Regions from separate parts of the Homo sapiens genome. Here region 2 is linked to region 1. The links are contacts of gene promoters, found by promoter capture Hi-C in human tissues and cell types (Jung and others, 2019). All regions are on one chromosome and are shown on one strand. Each heading gives the region's core, a stretch centred on a gene start or on the middle of the fragment in contact. The rest is flanking DNA. Distances are from core to core; before and after follow the strand shown. Region 1 holds the start of DDX55 (DEAD-box helicase 55). Region 2 holds the start of ZCCHC8 (zinc finger CCHC-type containing 8).

Region 1 (6,747 bases), core at 2,770-5,269:
TTAAAATTGGTTGTATCTAATATGCCCCAGGTTCGGTAAATAAACAATTCTTTTTAAAAACAGTATTCTGTGTTTTATATATTGACAGCTAATCCACATTTTTTACACACCAACTTTCTGTTCTTATTTGACATGAGACATGTTCATGTTTTCTGAGTATTTATACCTATTACGTCTGTTACTTTTTAATTCTATAAACTTGAGGATAGTGAATGGTACCAAGTTTTAGTTTCTGCGTAGGTTTTCCAGTGTGGCTTCTCTGATGGATCAGTGCTAAAATCTTAAGTATTTTTCTATTTGGGAAAAAAGGGTTGAATTATTTTCACTTGCCCACGTAGTTTATGAATGTGGGAAATAGCTTCAAAGACAGATTAAATGATTTGCCCAAGGCCACAGAAAAGAGTGAAAGGTGGAACCGGAGACTAGATCACCACCTGTAGAAACTGTTCTTCCTCTGTGAAACTAACGGCCTGCTGGTAATAAAAGTAGCTACCATTTCTTGAGTACTGTGTAATGTCTCGATCTAGTACTAAGCACTTTACTTGGTCTGTCTTATTCATGCTTCAAAACTGCCATTACCTTGGGTAAAACCATTTTGGAAGTGAGGAGGAAAACAGGCTTGGAAAGGGTCTTAAGGTCAGAAAACTAGTAGGTAGTAGAGCCCAGAAGACACACACAGATATGTAATTTCCCTGTGCCTTTGCTTTCAGAACTGTCTGTGAAGTCTCCCACCTTTTCTTTTTTTGGAGACAGGATCTCACTCTGTTCCCAGGTTGGCTTGATCTCTGCTCACTGAAGCCTCAACCTCCCGGGCTCAAGTGATCCTACCACCTCAGCTCTCCAAGTAGCTGGGACTACATTTTTTGTTTTTTAAAGACAGGGTCTTGCTTTGTTACCTGGACTGGAGTGCAGTGGCACAAACATGGCTCACTGGAGCCTTAACCTCTCAAGTGATCCTCTCATCTCAGCCTCCCGAGTAGCTGGGACCACAGGCATGCACCACCACGCCTAGCTAATTAAAAAATTATTTTTGTAGAGGCAGAGTCTCCTGTATGTTGCCCAGGCTGGCCTCATTCTCCTGGGCTCAAGTGATCCTCCTGCCTCAGCCTCCCAAAGTGTTGGGATTGCAGACATGAGCCACCGTGCCTAGCCGAAGTCCCATTTTATAAAAGTTGTCAAAGGTGTTTTGAGAATGTGATGATCATTTCACTGAAAATGTGGCTTCAGGCTGTTGTCTTTTACTTAATTTGAGATGACTGCAGTCTGCATGAGTTGTATTCCCATTTATCAATCCCACAAATATTTGAGTGATTGCTGTGTGCTACAGTGATAGTCCTTGGGATAAAGAAGATAGAGAAAAGACCCTATTAGTGTGGGTTTTACATTTTGGTGGCAGAGATGAACCTAATAAGTTTTGTGTGTGTGTGTGTGTGTTTGTGTGTGTGTGGCGAGAAAGAGATAATGGTAAATGCTAAGAAGGGAACATAAATCAAGGTAGGAGTTTCAGTGATACAGAAAGGAAGGTAACAGAAGTTGATTTCAAAAGTCCAAGTGGAATGTAAGGGAGTGTAAGGGAAAACTTCCCCTTTGCTCTCAGGTTTCTCTAAAAATTCAACTGAAAATAGGCAGATTAATAGGAGGAAAGTGATACAAATTTATTCGGTCATGCTTTTACATGACAAAGGAACCTTCAGAATTAAGACCCAAAGTTACAGGGAAAACTATTTTTATGCTTAGGCTCAACAAAATATGCACAGCTGAGTAGAAATAGGACTGGACAAGAAGGGCATGATCTAATGCTCATAGACTGAGTGGGGAAGCCCAGCGAGGCCTGTCTGGATTCTTTCCTTCTGGATAGGGGAAAGAACCCTTCCTGGAATGGGGTCTTACAACCTACCAGCAAAACAAAGGAGGTCAGATACATTTTTTTTTTTTTTGGAGACAGTCTCTCTCTGTCACCCAGGGTGGAGTGCGGTGGCGCGATCTTGGCTCACTGCAGCCTCCGCCTCCCGGGTTCAAGCAATTCTCCTGCCTCAGCCTCCCAAGTAGCTGGGAATACAGGCGCACGCTGCCACATCTGGCTAATTTTTTTTTGTATTTTTAGTAGAGACGGGATTTCACCGTCTGGTCTCGAACTCCTGAGCTCAGGCAATCTGCCCGCCTTGGCCTCCAAAAGTGCTAGGATTACAGGTGTGAGCCACCACGTCTGGCCTTTTTTTGTTTGTTTGTTTGTTTGTTTGTTTGTTTTTTGAGACTGAGTCTCACTCTGTCGCCCAGGCTGGAATGCAATGGTGCGATCTAGGATTACTGCAGCCTCCACTTCTCAGGTTCAAGCGATGCTTGTAGCTCAGCCTCCGGAGTAGCTGCAGGCACCTGCCACCACACCTGGCTAATTTTTTGTATTTTTAGTAGACAGGGTTTCACTACGTTGGCCAGGCTGGTCTCAAACTCCTTACCTTAGGTGATCCGCCTGCCTCAGCCTCCCAAAGTGCTGGGATTACAGGCATGAGCCACCGCACCTAGCCCAGATAATTTCTTTTTCTTTTTTTTTTTGAGACTGAGTCTCGCTTTGTCACCCACGCTGGAGTGCAGTGGCGCAACCTCCACCTCCCTGGTTCAAGCGATTCTTCTGCCTCAGGCTCCTGAGTAGCTGGGACTACAGGCATGCGCCACCACGCCTGGCTAATTTCTGTATTTTTAGTAGAGACGGGGTTTCACCATATTGGCCAGGCTGGTCTCGAACTCCTGACCTTGAGATCTGCCCGCTTTGGCCTCCCAAAGTGGTGAGATTACAGGCGTGAGCCACCGTGCCAGGCCAATAATTTCTTTATGGCCAGTTTTTTCACAGAAAGGTGGAGAGAGAGTAATATTTTTAGGTTTTATGGCTGACTGTGGAGAAAAGGGATTCCTGTTTCTATGCTCCGTCATGGGCAAGAGGGATTCTTGAGTTTCTATGGCTAGCCTCAGAGAATCAGAGATCAGAGAGGGAGCAGAAGGTCAGAGAGAAACTTGCTTCTGAGGCTGCCTCTGGGGCCTTCATTTTGGGGTTTCGTTTTCAGAGCCTCAACAGGAGCAAGCCATGCACATAGGTGGAGGAGATAGGCCCTCATAGAGGGCACATAATGAGTGGTCAATAAAAGTTTGCTGAGTGAAGGCCGGGCGCGGTGGCTCACGCCTGTAATCCCAGCACTTTGGGAGGCCGAGGCGGGCGGATCACGAGGTCAGGAAATCGAGACCATCCTGGCTAACACGGTGAAACCCCGTCTCTACTAAAAATACAAAAAATTAGCCGGGCGTGGTGGAGGGCGCCTGCAGTCCCAGGTACTCGGGAGGCTGAGGCAGGAGAAGGGCGTGAACCCGGGAGGCGGAGCTTGCAGTGAACCGTTATAGCGCCCAGCCTCCAGCCTGGGCAACAGAGCGAGACTCCGTCTCAAACAACAACAACAACAACAACAACAACAAAAACAGCTTTCTGAGTGAAGTTGTATGTGGACATGAATGGCCCAGGCAAACAGTGAACAGAGGAATGGGACAGTGTTCTTAGTTAGGACTCTGACCCTAACTTCCGGGAAAGTAAACCAACATTCAGGACGTACCGGCCATCGGACCGCAACATTCAGGACGTACCGGCCATCAGCGGGTGCCTGTTTTGCAGGGCTGCTAACCCGGGTCCCCGACACGTTTCTCTGCCCACGGTAGCCAGCCCCGCTGTCCTTCGGCCTGGACGCGGTCCTGTGCTGCCACCTGCCTCCGAGGGGCAGAGAAAGTGGGAGGGCCGGGCCAGAATCCCTCCCGCCAAAACTCCTGCCCGGTGCGGAGAGGCGCCCGGAGCCCAGGGCGCTGTGCGGAGCGGGTGTAACTCCCCAGGCCTGCCCCGCCGCCTGCCTCCACCGTCCCGCGGACGCCTTTCCTCCCTCCCGCGGCGTGGGAGCCTTCGCCGCGCTCCGGAACTCTGCTGCTCCAGCGAAGTTCCCGGCCGGCCGCTGGAGCTGCGGGAAGCGGAAGTGCTCGTTGGGGGTGCACAAGGCGCGTTCGAGCAGCGGCGACCGACGCGGCGAAGGAGCGCGCCATGGAGCATGTGACAGAGGGCTCCTGGGAGTCGCTGCCTGTGCCGCTGCACCCGCAGGTGCTGGGCGCGCTGCGGGAGCTGGGCTTCCCGTACATGACGCCGGTGCAGGTATCGGTTCCCTGGCGTGGGGGAGTGAGGCTGGGAGAGGGGCAGGCACCCGCTGCATCGGACCCACAGGAGGTGATCGGACAGATCTGAGCCCTGGGGCGCTCATCCCTCCAGCTGGGGCTCTTGCCTTGTCTCCAGCTGCCCAGACTGGCGGAATGCGGAGCTGCCCGGCCAGCGAGCCGGCAGAGGGGCCGCGACCCACCCCGCCCTCGGGTGCTGTGGTCTCAAGCCTGGTTCTCATCCTGGCCCTGCTCGCTGTAGCTGTGAGACCTCGGGCAAATGGCTTAACCTCTCCGTGCTTCATTTTCCTTCTCTGTGAAATGACGAAAAAATAACACCCTCCTTATGGGGTTGCTGTGGGGACTAAATAAACCAGTCGGCACACTATGGGAGCTCAGTAAGGGTTACCGTTGTTATGCATCTCTTCAAGAATATTTCTTGAGGACCTGCTATGTGTCAGGAACTCTTCTAGGCTCTGGGGAGTTTGCAGTATTGGCATCTGCTCATAGCCTTACTTTCTAGTGCAAGAGCTAGAGAAAGGATAATTTCAGCTGCTGGTAAGTGTTATGAAAGAACTAAGACGGTTGTGATAGTGTCGCGCGAGGACTGCAGAGGAGGTGAGATAGGGTGTTAAGGAAGGCCTCTCTGAGGAGGTGCATTGAGCTGAGACCTCAGTGATTGAGAAGGAGCTGGCTCTGAGGTGACTAGGGGGAGATTATTCCACTGGAGAGAAATACCAGTGCACATAAATGCCCTGCGGCAGGCTGCAAATAGTTTGAGCAGCAGAAAGGAGGCCTTTGTGGCTGAACATCAAGAGTAGTGTAAGAGATGGATTGTGCAGGGTCTTGTAGGCGCTTGGATTTCATTCTAAATGTAGTGGGAAGCCATCTTATCTGGGAGGATGTTTAGGAAGGGAAGGGCTGTGATTTCTCTGTAGAGAGTGGCCTTTCCAGGCATAAGAGATGAAGCAGGCAGGTCGCTTAGGAGGCCATTGTCAGGTAAGAGATGATGGTGACTTGGAGTAGGGTGGAACCAGTGGATACTGAGAAGTCACATTTGGGATAGCTTTAAGGTTGCTAAGGGACTGGAAGTGGAGGTTAGGAAAGAAAAGACTACAGGACCTGAGGTTTTTATTCTTTTTTTTTTTTTTTTTGAGATGGAGTCTCGCTCTGTTGCCCAGGCTGGAGTGCAGTGGCGCGATCTCGGCTCACTGCAACCTCCGCCTCCTGGGTTCAAGCAATTCTCTGCCTGAACCTCCCAAGTAGCTGAGATCACAGGTGCCTGCCACCATGCCCGGCTAATTTTTTGTATTTTTAGTAGATACGGGGTTTCACCATCTCGGCCAGGTTGGTCTTGAACTCCTGACCTCCTGATCCACCCGCCTTGGCCTCCCAAAGTGCTGGGATTACAGGCTGAGCTACCGCACCCGGCTGATTTTTATTAGTAGCTGAGTGAATGGTGTTACCATTTCCCAAGAATGACTGGCGTGCGTATCAGGTTTCAGAGGGAAAGTCAAGAGTTCTTTTTTTTGTTTTTTGTTTGTTTGTTTGTTTTTAACTTTTTTGAGACGGAATCTTTCTCTGTTGCCCAGGTTGGAGTGCAATGACACGATCTCGGCTCACTGCAACTTCTGCCTCCCGGGTTCAAGCTATTCTCCCATCTCAGCCTTCCAAGTAGCTGGGGTTACAGGCATACACCACCACGCCTGGCTAATTTTTGTGTTTTTAGTAGAGACGGGATTTCGCCATGTTGGCCAGACTGGTCTTGAACTCCTGACCTCAGGTACGCCCGCCTTGGCCTCCCAAAGTGCTGGGATTACAGGAGTGAGCCACTGCGCCTGACCACAAGAGTCCTGTTTTTAAACACTGAGCTGGGTACAGTGGCACCCGCCTGTAGTACCATTTGTTTGGAAGGCTGAGGTGGGAGGATCCCTTGAGCCCAGGAGTTCAAGACCAGCCTGAGCAACATAGTGAGACCCGCATCTTCGAAATTAAAATAAATAATGGCCGGGCACGGTGGCTCACGCCTGTAATCCTAGCACTTTTGGAGACCAAGGTGGGAGGATCACTTGAGATCAGGAGTTCAAGACCAGCCTGGGCAACATAGGGAGGCCCTGTCATCACAAAAATTTTTTTTAAATAAATGAAGTCTTGAGTTTGAGATGCCCATAAGATTCCCGGGAATGTGGAGAATGTATTTCCAGCAGGCAGGGCTGGAGATGAAAACTGGGAGTGCTATGTGCCCTGCCTAGGGAATGTAGTGCGAGCAAGACCCAATCTCTGGCCTCAGAGCTCATTGTCTAGACCTGTCATCCACTACACAGTCATCAGACATGGCTATCAAGTGCTTGAAATACACTTTGTCCAAATCAAAGTGTACTCTGAGTATCAAATAACACACTAGATTTTGAAGACCTAGTATGAAAAAAGAATGGAAAATGCTGATTTTTAAATATTGACTAAATGTGAAGGGACAATATTTTTGATATATTGGGTTAAATAAAATATTAAAATTTATTTCACCCATTTCTTTTTACTTTTCTTACTATGGCTATTAGAAAATTTAAAATT
Region 2 (6,897 bases), core at 1,490-3,989, 1.1 Mb before region 1:
TTGTCACTCTCAGCTCACTGCAACCTCTACCTCCCGGGTTCAAGGGATTTTCCTGCCTTAGCCTCCCAAGTAGCTGGGATTACAGGCGCCCACCACGTCCAGCTTATTTTTGTAATTTTAGTAGAGACAGCGTTTCACCACGTTGCCCAGGCTGCTCTCGAACTGACCTCAGTTGATCCGCCCACCTCGGCCTCCCAAAGTGCTGGGATTACAGGCGTGAGCCACTGCCCCTGGCCCATTATACTATAATTTTTTTTTTTAGGTGCTGGAATTACAGGCATGAGCCACCAGACCCAGCCAATATTGTAATCTTAATTCTAACTTTCTAGAAATGTTTGTTAAATAGGAATAGCTAGGTTAACAACTTGCCTATTCTGAACATTAAGTAAACATTTTCTGGATTTTGTTTCATCCTTTCATCCAATAAATGAGCTTACAATTTTAATCCACTTATGAGAATTCAGACCTTATCCCCACAATTAAATAACTATTACTTTGATTTCTTCAGAGTATGCTAAACAAATAAAAATGATACAAAAATCCCATACACTTTTTACAACGAAATTCTGATTAAATATTAATATCAGGATAAATAATAAGGGACAACTATGGAGTAATTTCAAAAATCTCATACCTCGGTCGAGTCAGAATGTTCAATTTTCGTTTAAGTTCTTGATGTTATTATTTGTTAAGGAAGATAAGCCCTCATTTAACAATGCAAATCATAAAATTCAACTACTACTTCTCTCACTTTTGGTGTCAGAATATTATAAAGACAAAAGACCCACGGATATTTTGAGGATGACACACTTATTGAGCTTCTATTTTGTTGCAGGGGTAGGCTTTTGAAACCCAAAATTAAAGTACGGTTTTTATCCTTTCGAACATATATTCTAAGACACGATCCTGAAGTTCAACAGACTAACAAACTGAACCAAAACCATTATTGAAGCATCAGTGTTCCTGTCAAACCTTTCAACAACCACTATGTGATAAAGAGAATGCAGTATAACGAGCTGTTAACAACTTTAGAATTTGGAATAAATCTATGGATGTCCACTGTAGAATCCTTTCAACTTTTTTTTTTTTTTTTTGAGACACAGTCTCACCCTGTCGCCCAGGCTGGAGTGCAATGGTGTGATCTTGGCTCACTGCAACCTCCGCCTCCCAGGTTCAAGGGATTCTCCTGCCTCAGCCTCCTGAGTAGCTGGGATTACAAGCACGCGCCACCACGCCCGGCTAATTTTGTATTTTTAGTAGAGACGGGGTTTCACCATGTTGGCCAGGCTGACCTCCTGATCCTCATGATCCACCTGATCCTCATGATCCTCCTGACCTCATGATCCACCCGCCTCGGCCTCCCAAAGTGCTGGGATTACAGGCTTGAGCCACAGCGCCCGGCCTCAACTTTTTGTATTCTGAAAATTTTCCTCACAATGTGGAGGAAGACGACATTCTGAAAAAATAAATCGCGCTTCACAAACCTTAAAAACTGATATACTGACTGGGCGCCGTGGCGGGCGCCTGTAATCCCAGCTATTCGGGAGGCTGAGGCAGGAGAATCGCTTGAACCCGGGAGGCGGAGGTTGCAGTGAGCCGAGATCGCGCCACTGCACTCCAGCCTGGGCAACAGACTGAGACTCCATTCCCCGACCCCGTCCCCCTAAAAAAGCTAACATATCAGCCACTTTCAGTTCTCTACAAATTTTAAAAGGAAAACTACCCGAACCAAAGTTATCTATCTACCTATAAAACTCTACGAACGTAAAAAAAAACATACTAGCAAATCAAGAAAAATCTGCAATCTTGTAACTCAAGTCTAACAGAAACTTCTTTGGCGCGTTTTCCTCAAGGCGTTGCAAAGCATCTTCAGCACAGAAGCGAGCTCCGAGTGGAAGAACTCTAAAATTAATCCCCAATTTTAATCAAGCAATTAACCAATTATCTCAGCACACCCGGATTCCTTGAGGCCCCCAACTCTGCATTCTGGGACCACTAGCGTTTGCCCCGGTATAAAAACCGATCCCGCGTCTAAGCAGCCGGTATTTCATCACCTACAACTGTAACATGACGGCACAATTTGAGCGTGGCTGCGAAATATGAAACCTCACCACGACCTCAAACAGAGGGGGGCAATTAAGGGCTTGTGTACAATCTGTCAGGTGAGCAGCCTAAAATAACCCTAAACACGGCACCCGGGTGGGAGGCAGGAGTGGGTCTGGTCAGGAGACGGCCTCCCTGAGGGGAAGAGGTCTGCGCCGAGGCAGCCTGCGCGCCCCGAACCCTAGACTCTCGGTCCGCCGGCGGGTGACAGAAAGCACTTGGAATTCTGGCCCTCCTGGAACTTCCGCCCGCGCCCTCGCCCTCGCCCGGCGCTGCCCCGGCCCCACGCCTGGCGCTGCCCCGGCCCCACACCCGGGTGACAGGGCCCAGCGAGAGGAAAGGATATTCTCGGCGCGGAGCTGCTCGATGGTCTCCTCGCACTGCCGAAGCCGCTCCCGTAGCTCCGCGTCGCCGACCCCATTTTCGTCCTCCTCGTCGCCGTCGTCGTCCTTGAAGCGAGTGTGAACGGGCTTCGGAATCGACTCCTCTGGGTGGTCGAACGGCTCGAAGAGCTCTAGATCGCCAAAATACACCTCTGCGGCCATTTTGGGCTGTGGAAAAGATTCGAGAAGAGGCGGAGCCGGCCACCAGGGCTTGGGGAAGAAGGTTGGAAGGCGGCACCACTCTCTAGAGCTCTGGCCGCACGGAGCCACCCGCTAGGGTTTTCTCCAGACGCAGGCCGCGAAAGCTGCACACGGGGCGGGGCCAGTCGCTAGAGACTACAACTCCCGGAATGCAGCGGGGCCTATCGGGCTTGCGATTGCCCGGAGGACGGCATGCTGGGACGTGTGGTTTCTAAGCGACTGGTACTCATTGTCTGCATTGCATCCTGGGATTGGTGCTTTTTGAAATGTGAAGAAAGCTGGAGTAGGTCAGAATGCGCTAAAGCAATCTGGGGGCAGGGCGGGGTGGCTCACACCTGTAATACCAACTACTCGGGAGGCAGAGGTGGGAGGATCACGTGAGCCCAGGAGTTGGAGACCACCCTGGGCAACAGAGCGAGACCCAGACACTACAAAAAAATATAAAAATTAGCTGGGCGATTGTAGTCCCAAGTACTCGGCAAGCTGAGGCGGGAGGGTTTGAGCCCAAGAGGTCGAGGCTGCATTGAGCCCAGATGGCGCCACTGCACACCAGCCTGGGAGACAAAGCAAGACCCTGTCTCAAAAAGAAAAAGAAAAACAAAAACCAGTATGGGATGTTCCTGTTAGGCAACTAAGGGTGAAAAATCAGAGCACGACGCATAGCTTCTCACAGATTCTGGTGTGCGTGCCACACCAGAGAATAAGGAACTCCATAGCCTGAAAGGGAACTGAATAAAAATAAACATAAAAGAGAATAAGAAACTCCAGCTTTGCTACAGAGATGACTGTTGTAGATTAGTTTATTGAGCTTGCTTCGTTTTTAATGTAAGATTAGCTAGACTCAACTATTTGTCTGTTGAGGCTTTCTGTCATTCAATCACATTATTTACTTACACCTTCGATGGGCCAGGCACTTGTCTAGGACCTGAGTATGGTTACAAGAGTAACCACAATAGAGTAATTCCTCCTCTCACGAAGGCTGTAGTCCACAAAAAGCAACAAAAACCCCATAATTATAAATGTTCCTGTTCTTGGGTCGAGATGGTTGTTGATGGATATTGATCACACAAAGAAATGTGGGCCGGGGGCGGTGGCTCACATCTGCAACCCCAGCACTTTGGGAGGCCGAGGCAGGTGGATCACGAGGTCAGAAATTCAAGACGAGCATGACCAACATGGAGAAACCCTGTCTCTACTAAAAATACAAAAATTAGCCAGGCGTAGTGGCACACGCCTGTAATCCCAGCTACTCAGGAGGTTGAGGAAGGAGAATCGCTTGAACCCGGGAGGCAGAGGTTGCAGTGAGCCGAAATCGTGCCACTGCACTCCAGCTTGGGCGACAGAGCAAGACTCTGTCTCAAAAAAAAAAAAAAAAAAAAAAAGGTGAAAAACACAGGAAGTTATGAATATTTAACAAACACCCTAGTCTGTGGGAGTCAGTAAAGTGAGGAAGTGAGACTTTAAGGATCGGCAAAGTTGGGGGTGGGAGGATGGAAGAGTGTCTTAGGTGTAAGGACCACCATGTTGAGTGAAAAGGCAGAGTGGAGCAAGATGAGGTTGGAACACTGCTAGGTCAGTGCTCAAAGGCCCTTAAGGAAGCCTCTTTCCGTTTACAACATTGGGAAGTCACTTACACATTTTAACATTTTTTTTTTCTTTTTGTGGACAACAGGATCTCCCTATATTGCCCAGGTAGGTCTTGAACTTCTGAGCTAAAGCTATCCTCCTGCCTCTGCCTCCCTAAATACTGGGATTACAGGAATGACCCACTGTGCCTGGCCATTTAAATTTTTTTTTTTTGAAATTTTATTTTTTGAGACAGAGTCTCACTGTGTCACCCAGGCTGGAGTGCAGTGGCATGATCTCGGCTCACTGCAACCTCCGCCTCCCAGGTTTACTTTCACTGAAAAATCTGCATGAGGCCTGGCGTGGTGGCTCACGCCTGTAATCCCAGCACTTTGGGAGGCCCAGGCGGGTGGATCATGAGGTCAGGAGTTCAAGACCAGCCTGGCCAACATGGTGTAACCCGGGAGTTCAAGACCAGCCTAGCTGACATAGTGAAACCCCGTCTCTACGAAAAATACAAAAATTAGCCGGGCGTGGTGGCGGGTGCCTGTAATTCCAATTACTCAGGAGGCTGAGGCAGGAAAATTGCTTGAACCCAGGAGACAAAGGTTGCAGTGAGCTAGGATCATGCAACTGCACTCCAGCCTGGGCAAAAGAGTCTCTCACAAAAAAAAAAAAAAGAAAAAAAGAAAAAAAAATTCTGCATGTAAGTGGACCCTAAAGTTCAAACCCATGTGTTCAAGGGACAACTGTAATTTCATCTTTTAATTATTTGCATTTGGCTACTCAAAAAAGAAATTGAAATAAAATACTTAGGCCAGGCACTGTGGCTTCACACCTGAATCCCAGGTAGCACTTTGGGAGGCTGAGATGATGCAGATCATTTGAGGCCAAGAGTGGGAGACCAGCCTGGCCAACAGCCTGAGAACCCCATCTCAGGTACATTGTCATGGGCCTTTGGTGCCAGCTACTCAGGGGAGTGAGGTGGGAAGATCACTTGGACCAATATACATATACACACATATTTTATTGGACAGTGCTGCTCTAGATGAGCAAAGTACAGGCTGTATCACTCATCATGTATGGTCAGCTCCTAAAATAACTGTAGACACACAGGAAGCTTTTGCGTCCACACTGCCTTAGAAGGTCATGAACATTTTTAATAAGATTGATTTAAAAAGGCAGAGCTTAATTGAAAAATGTTGATGATCACGAAATGAAGGATCCATAGTGTCATTTCCTTAGAAGGCTTAGATTTGTCACTGAAACACGGTGAAAAGCCATTTTGCCATAGAATTTCTGTGCTCTGGGAAAATGAAAGGTTTATTAAAGTACATTAAAAATCTTACAATCTGGCTAGGTGAAGTGGATCACACCTGTAACCCCATCACTTTGGGAGCCCTGAGGTGGGAGGATTGCTTGAGGCCAGGAATTCAAGACCAACCTGGGCAACGTAACAAGACCTTGTCTTTATAAAAAATTAAAAACAAGCTAGGTGTGTTGGTGAGCACCTGTGGTCCCAGGTACTCAAGAGGCTGAGGTGGGAGGACTGCTTGAGCCTGGGGGAGCCTGCTGCAATGCACTGCACTCCAGCCTAGGACAGAAAGCAAAAAAAAAGAAAACACCCCATTACTTCATTTTCATGTATAAAAAAAATACCTAATGAGCAAGTTGGCAAGACTTAATTCCAGCTTTTAAAATAAGGCTGTCAATCTTATTCCTGTAGTCTTCCCTGATTGTAATGTGCTCTCATTCTGTGATGTTTTCCAAAGGATTTTTCAAAGGAAAGCCAAACCTTATTACTTTGCTGTAACTGAAGTAAATTAACTTCAAGTTTTGCAGGCCCCCCCCACCCCTTGGCTCCAGATTTATGTTCAATCTAGTAACAAAACATTTTCTAGGCTGGCTGCAGTGGCTCACGCCTATAATCCCGGCACTTTGGGAGGCTGAGGAGGGTGGATCACCTGAGGTCAGGAGTTCAGGACCAGCCTGGCCAACATGGTAAAACCCCACCTCTACTAAAAATACAAAAATTAGCTGGGTGCGGTGGTACGCCTGTAATCCCAGTTACATGGGAGGTGGAGGTGGGAGAATTGCTTGAACCTGGGGGGCAGAGGCTCTGGCAGTGAGCCGAGATTGTGCCACTGCACCCAGTTTAGGCAACAGAGCAAGATCCTGTCTCAAAAAAACAAACAAAAAAAATTTCTAATATTTTAATATTTTATAGTCTATGCTGGAGAAGACTTCAAAGGGATAATGAGCAAAAAGCATGCAAAGAACTTGTTATAAGGCACTTTATTAAAATAAAAGTGCTTACATCCCTTTAATGCATTAATCTATCTCCTGAATAACACATGTAATATTTGACAAATACTGAATACCAAGTCTGTCCCTTATAATAGGAAAACATACTATTTTAGTAAGTTTTCTCCTTCCACCTTTTACATTTTTGCTCACCACGGTATTGACTGTAGTATAGTTAACTGGCCTTAAAAAGGGTGGTGGGGAGGGGATTTCTAGCTAGTGTTTTCTAACAGCAATTGCCAAATGCTACAGAAACTATAAAACAAATTCAAAGAAACATCCCAGGTAACTTAAATTAACACCAGTTTTGAGAAAACCATTTTTATTATCATTACCACCC

Evidence for each region. Contacts are between HindIII fragments. The study calls those that stand out against the background at their distance.
Region 2: the fragment with the promoter of ZCCHC8 here is called in contact with the fragment with the promoter of DDX55 in region 1 in 1 of the 25 tissues and cell types used here (hippocampus).

Annotation. Positions count from the first base shown.
Region 1 is chr12:123,598,080-123,604,826 of GRCh38, forward strand. It overlaps DDX55 (DEAD-box helicase 55), which reads left to right and starts at 4,020. Exons shown (of 14, transcript NM_020936.3): 1 at 4,020-4,177. The coding sequence starts at 4,070. It overlaps TMED2 (transmembrane p24 trafficking protein 2), which reads left to right. Exons shown (of 4, transcript NM_006815.4): 4 at 1-503. RefSeq lists a silencer at 4,382-4,491 and an enhancer at 4,732-4,781. The HindIII fragment of the contact is 15,410 bases long and covers 1-6,747 here.
Region 2 is chr12:122,498,193-122,505,089 of GRCh38, forward strand. It overlaps ZCCHC8 (zinc finger CCHC-type containing 8), which reads right to left and starts at 2,740. Exons shown (of 14, transcript NM_017612.5): 1 at 2,450-2,740; 2 at 635-677. The coding sequence starts at 2,648. It overlaps RSRC2 (arginine and serine rich coiled-coil 2), which reads right to left. Exons shown (of 10, transcript NM_023012.6): 10 at 5,262-6,897. RefSeq lists enhancers at 1,708-2,399, 2,400-3,093, 2,589-2,668, 2,869-2,928, 2,979-3,158 and 1 more and silencers at 2,299-2,448, 5,877-6,077. The HindIII fragment of the contact is 12,081 bases long and covers 1-6,897 here.